Regions from separate parts of the Homo sapiens genome. Here region 1 is linked to region 2. Evidence: promoter capture Hi-C in 16 types of primary human blood cells and fetal thymus (Javierre and others, 2016). All regions are on one chromosome and are shown on one strand. Each heading gives the region's core, a stretch centred on a gene start or on the middle of the fragment in contact. The rest is flanking DNA. Distances are from core to core; before and after follow the strand shown. Region 1 overlaps MAP7D1 (MAP7 domain containing 1). Region 2 holds the start of MRPS15 (mitochondrial ribosomal protein S15).

The links. The method cuts DNA at HindIII sites, captures the fragments that hold promoters and counts their contacts. A CHiCAGO score of 5 or more calls a contact.
Region 1: a contact is called between a fragment that was not itself captured here and the fragment with the promoter of MRPS15 in region 2, in 1 of 17 cell types (neutrophils). The highest score is 5.6, in neutrophils.

The regions. Positions count from the first base shown.
Region 1 is chr1:36,172,585-36,175,650 of GRCh38, reverse strand. MAP7D1 (MAP7 domain containing 1) reads right to left here. Exons shown (of 17, transcript NM_001388490.1): 4 at 3,024-3,066; 5 at 2,173-2,287; 6 at 643-753. Among named protein-coding and RNA genes, the nearest start is that of MAP7D1, 18 kb to the right of the region's middle. RefSeq lists a silencer at 212-301 and an enhancer at 1,904-3,066. The HindIII fragment of the contact is 7,110 bases long and covers 1-3,066 here.
Region 2 is chr1:36,463,114-36,465,813 of GRCh38, reverse strand. MRPS15 (mitochondrial ribosomal protein S15) reads left to right here and starts at 1,430. Exons shown (of 8, transcript NM_031280.4): 1 at 1,430-1,668; 2 at 1,964-2,008. The coding sequence starts at 1,539. RefSeq lists enhancers at 617-1,518, 1,275-1,524, 924-2,123, 1,519-2,422. The HindIII fragment of the contact is 11,955 bases long and covers 1-2,700 here.

The DNA of each region.
Region 1 (3,066 bases), core at 318-2,817, 290 kb after region 2:
TACAGCAGCTGATTTGGTTGCTAGGCAACAAAGCAGCCAAACAAATGCAAGAGAAACTTATAAATAACTCCCACCATGGCTCCTTCACATATGAGCACCAGGGCATGGTGGGAATGCAGGGGCTATGCCACCTTGGTTGGCTCAACTCTGGGACCAGCCAAGGCCATGACTGGGGCTCTGAAGACAGAGAGGGCAGGATTGCATGGGCCCTCTAGGGTGGAGCCAGAATGAGGGACCCCTCCACCCCACAGCACCCAGGCCAGTCTGACACATGGGGACAATGCCACCTGGCTAAGGTTGGCCCAGACCAGCTGGCTGTGGTTGCAGAAAAGGCTGCCTGCCTGTCCCCACCCCCAGCCACCACCTCCAACTTGCTCTTGAGGCTCCTGCCAGGCTTCCTGCCCTCTGCGGCATTGTGCTTTGTCTCTGTTCTCCTCTCCTACAGGGCAACCTCTGTCCTCAGGGTCCAGACCCATATGCCGGCTCCCCCGAGGGGCACAGAGCCCTGGGTAAGGTAGAGTGGGGATGGGGACCTGGAGTATGTGAGGGCTCCAGGGACCTGGTGTTCTTGCTGAGCTCTGGAGGAGGCTTGGTGGGAGCTACAAGGGGCTCTGGAGGGGGAAGGGCTGGGCCTTCTCTTACTTCTACTGGGGGAGTTCCAGAGCGTGGCAGAGGACTTTGAGAGCCGCTTGTTGATTATAGAGTCCACGTGTTTGGGCAGGTTAACTGCCGACACGGAGCACCTGCTCCCACCTGGAGGGGGAAAAGACACGGCATTAGGGCCGGGCCCGGCAGGAGCCAGTGGGGGGCACCGAGGCCTTCCATGCAGGATGCTCCGAGGGCGGGGTGGGAGAGGGAGGAGTGGGCAGGCTAGGATGAGGAGCAGGAGGCAGCCTTGGCCCTGGGAGAGGGAGGGTGGGGGGGTAGGTGACCAGAGACAACCTGGGTTGGGGGAGCCGACGGAGAAGGAACAAAGGGAGGAGATGAGTAAAACTAGAGAAACTACAGCTTTCCTGGCCAGACCAAGGAAGCCATTCCTTACGGCTGAGTACTGCAACCCCTCCCCATAACCACCCAGCATTAGCACTTGCTGACACTGCCCAGCCAAGACGTTTGGATACAACACCCCCGTACTGGGATAAATGCAAAAACCCTCCTAAACAGGACCTACACAGTCACAGTCACTTGCACAAATCCACGTGTTCATCCAGAATCACAAAAAGACATGCAGACACAGGCATATAGAGTGGCAGATACTTCGGCATGCACACATGTGTGCAGACATGCACAGGGACAGAGACACAAACACTAACAGATAGTGTGTCAGACCCAGATGCACACAAGCCACAAACAGATCGAAGCAACCTCATCATGACATTTGTAGCAGCTCACATTTGTTGATGCTTACCATGTGCCAGGTACTGTGTGGGGCACCACACACATGTGACCTCATTTGATCCTTCAAACATCTATCTACCACCTCAGGGGCAAGTAGTATCACTATCCCCAGTTTATAGATGAAGAAAGTGAGACTTCGAGAAGTTAAAGGTTACGCTGCAAGTGCCAGAGCTGGAACCCAAGTCTGTCTGACTTAGGAGCCCTCACTGAGGTACACAAGGTCACAAACACGCCAAGGCAAACACATATTAAGACACACAATGCACGGGTCCAGGAGCACATAAACAGAAGATACACAGCTAGAAATACTGAAACTTGCCATTGCATAAAGACATCCAAGCACAGTGGTACATACATGCCAGCAAAGAATCAGACCAAAATCCATGGTGGCCCTACGCGGAGAAAACTCAGAGACAAAAATCTACCTTCCGAGACAAGGAGTGACAGTTTCTTTAAGATCCAGTGTCTGTAGGTCATTAAAGTCTTTTATGTATCAACAACTAATAATAATTGACAGGCGCAAAGAAGGCTAATCCTAAAATGACAGAGGTTTGAAGAGCAAACCAAATGGAGAGAATCCATCTCTGATTTGATAGTGGAAGTCCTTGGGAAGGGACAGTTTGGCTTACAGACCATTCTAGAAGACACAAGTCACATAAAGCAAGGCACACCTGCTGCAGGGAGCCACCAGCTTTTTGTAGGGAAGTTGTTCCCTTCCCTTACTTGCCATCCCAGCCTTGCCCACCCACTCCCCAGCCCCTCCAGCCTACTCACTGGTCTTATGTCCTGGAGAGCTGTGGTGCAGGGCCCCTGCCCAGGACCAGCGCTGCTGCCGGATTTCGGCCCACGTCTTCTTCACTGACCGTTGGATGGCTGCTTCATAGCGCTCCTGGGGGAAGGTGGGGAGAAGAGAGAGATGTGGACTCAGAACATTCATCGAATTTGGGATAGAGGCCCTTCTTCCTCCTGTGACAATGCCTCCCCCACTCCCTTCCCTTGGAGTCTTTTCCTGACTCATTGCAGGTAACCAAGGTTACCAAATCCTTGCTATGATTAAGGACCAAGATCCCTTTCAACTTGTTCTTGGGGAGCTTTTCACTGTTCCTGAGTCATTTCCTGAGTGCATGAGTTGATTCTCTGAGGATTGGGTGGACTCCCCCTACCTGGGGCTCCCAGGCAAGGCCACATCTCAGGCACTGAGGGTCCTGACCTTGGGGCTATGTGTTCCCTCTAGCCTGAGGCCCTCCCAGGTAGGGCCAGGTGGCCATTTCCTTCATTTCCTCACCAGCACTCAAGCTAGGGCTTTACCCATGTCACAGAGCTAGGCACGCTCACACAGATGCATACCTGCATACATACAGACACATGGGGTACATGTACGAACACAGGTACTGACAGTAAACAGTTACAGGGGCCTACAGTGGCACATTCAGAAGCAAATGTGCCTGCAGTTGTACAGGTGCCCAGATATTCTAACACAGGGACACAACTGTAGATGTGAACACAAATAGGACCACATAGACACAGATAAGGCAGAGCCGTGAACATGGATGTGTGTACACACTGCACCAGTATGCAGACGGTGAGCACACGTGTACATGGATTCACGGAGACCCATCCCGCACCTTGTTTTTCTCGAGCTTCTGCCGCTGCCGTTCCTCCAGGGCT
Region 2 (2,700 bases), core at 181-2,680:
AGCTGCATTCTAGTGGTGGAGACTTGAAAACTGATCCTTAGGGCACAGTGGCATGGGTTACACGGGGGGAGTGACAGTGCGGTGGGACACGGTGAAGAGACTTTGGAAAAACTAACCCCTGTTGGGGAAATAAAATTAAAGACAAAATCCCCTGCCAACGCAGAAAACCTCTTCACAAGGGTAGAAAAGAAAGAAAACAGTGTTATTATTGAATAAGCATTAAACCGGAATGTGATACACTGGTGATCCACTAAAGAGACTGCAAAGAGACAAAAATCTTACTCTTTTATGTAGCAAAGTGAATACAACTTACTGTATCCATTTTCTCAAGATAAACAATAACTGGTCCTCAAGCAAGAGGACTTGGCTGCACCTCACTCTAAATTTACCTGGTAAGTGGGAAGCCACCTGTGTCTGCTAATTGCCTTTATCCAAAGGAAAAATCGATTTCCCCTATCTTTATAACAAAGGGTAGGTTGCAACTAAGAGCTAGGCACCAACTGAAGTTAGGCTCCTACCCTCCCACAGGAACTGAGAGAGAGCACTATCTTCCTTAATTATTACATTTCAAAGGGTTGGCCCCCAGGTCCTTGAGAAAAACATTCCGGGGTTGTAAAACTGGCAAGAGGTTTATTTACCTTTTAAGAAGATTTACATTCATCGCAAAGCAGTAGAGAAAGTATTCACAATTACAAGTTTTCTAAAGTAAATGCTCTCAGAAAAGTGAGGGGAAGGAGTCTTTTCCCTTTTTGCGCCAGGGAAAATTAAATTTTCTTTTTCTTCTAATTTGTATCCACCCTTACACCACTCATTTCACAAATAACGTCACCGTAAAGATTTACTAAATGCTCACTATATACCAGGTGGTCTGCATACAACTCAGTTAATCCTCTCAACAACCTAAAAGAGAGATATTGTTATTACTATCCCTACAGGGCCCACATAGGTTAAGTGACTTGCCCACAAGATCACATGTTGAGTAAATGGCTGAGTTAGGATTCCAGACCAGGACTGTGCGATTCCAAACTCAGCGACTTTAGTCTCCAGGCTACGAGGCTGCCAGAGACATGGCTGAAACCCAGTAGTAGTTCTTACACGGTCCCATCCTTGTCTAAGGGAGGGGTGAGGTGGGGTGGAGAGGGGATTGGGTTGGGGGTAGAAGGCTACCGCAGGCGCCATGGACCTCCCAAAATAACCCTGGCCCGAGGGCCAGGAATGAGATTAAGGACGGAACGCATGCCCTCCAAAAAGTGGCATTTTAGAATTTATACAGCACCCCAGCACGCTGCTAAACGTGGGCACACAACCACCACGGCCCGATCACGCGCAGCGGGAACCCGGTCTCTGAGCTCCGCCCCGTGCGTTGCGTCATCAGAGTCACGCCACCTAATCCATTCTCTCGGTCTTCGTCTGCTCCGGTATTGCAACTGCCTCGATTGGTCGATCCTGGGCCAGCATGGCGGCGCCCATGTAACCCGGTCCGTGCCGCAAAGCGAACGGCGGCCGCGGCGCGGGCCCCGCGGGGGTTAGAGGTCACCATGCTGAGGGTCGCGTGGAGGACGCTGAGTTTGATTCGGACCCGGGCAGTTACCCAGGTCCTAGTACCCGGGCTGCCGGGCGGTGGGAGCGCCAAGTTTCCTTTCAACCAGTGGGGCCTGCAGCCTCGAAGTGAGGAGCTGAGAAATGGGACGGCGGGCGTAGGGAAACAGGGTTCGGCGAAGATAGGGAATAAGGAAGCACAGGAGTAGGGGAGATATACAGCGGTCAGGATAAGGGGGAAAGGGCGGTGGTTGCGCAAGAGGTGAAACAAGATGTGAGAGACAAGGGGTAGGGAAGAAATGGGGCAGCGGTTAGGTTCAGAAGCGCATAGACCGTGGCGGACGGGCAATGCGAGGGGCACAGAAAGGAACTGAGGGGTGGGCTATTTAAGGAGATGGTCCTCAGCCCTCTCTTTTCTGCGTAGGTCTCCTCCTCCAGGCCGCGCGCGGATATGTCGTCCGGAAACCAGGTAGGAGTTCCTAAGGTGGGACTTGGGGCGGAAGAGAGACCTCCTGGAAGGCTGGGGTGGGTAAGGGGACCGATGTGGCGAATTAGAGCCACTAGATGAGGTGAGCCAGAGGTCCTGAGCAAAAGACCCCACGTCCACCTTACACAAAGCCCTAGGCCTGCAGCCTGTATGGGGACAGAGGGGTGTGAAGGGCGGGAGCAGGAGCTTTCCAGGTGAATGAGTGAAAATGAGCTTCCCAGAGGGAGTGCATGGCTGGCACCACCCAGGCCTACCTAGAGTATGGCACTTTGTGTCTGCGCTTCTGAGATGCAGGATGTAATTTCCCATTGCAACTCAGTATGCATAGTAGTTAAGATCCTTCTTATTAGGTAAATGATATGGGGCAAGGTACTTCCTCTCTCTGATTCTTATTTCTAAAATGAGTGTGAAAGTATCCATTTGCAAGGATTGTTAGGATTCAGCGATAATACACGAAAAGCACCCTTAACGCTGTGCTCAATTAAATATATTGATAGTATATATTAGAATTTATTATCTGGGGCCGGACGCGGTGGCTTACGCCTGTAATCCCAACACTTTGGGAGGCCAAGGTGGGCAGATCACTTGAGTTCAGGAGTTCGAGACCAGCCTGGCCAACATGGTGAAACCTCGTCTCTACTAAAAATACAGAAAAAAATTAGCCAGGTGTGGTA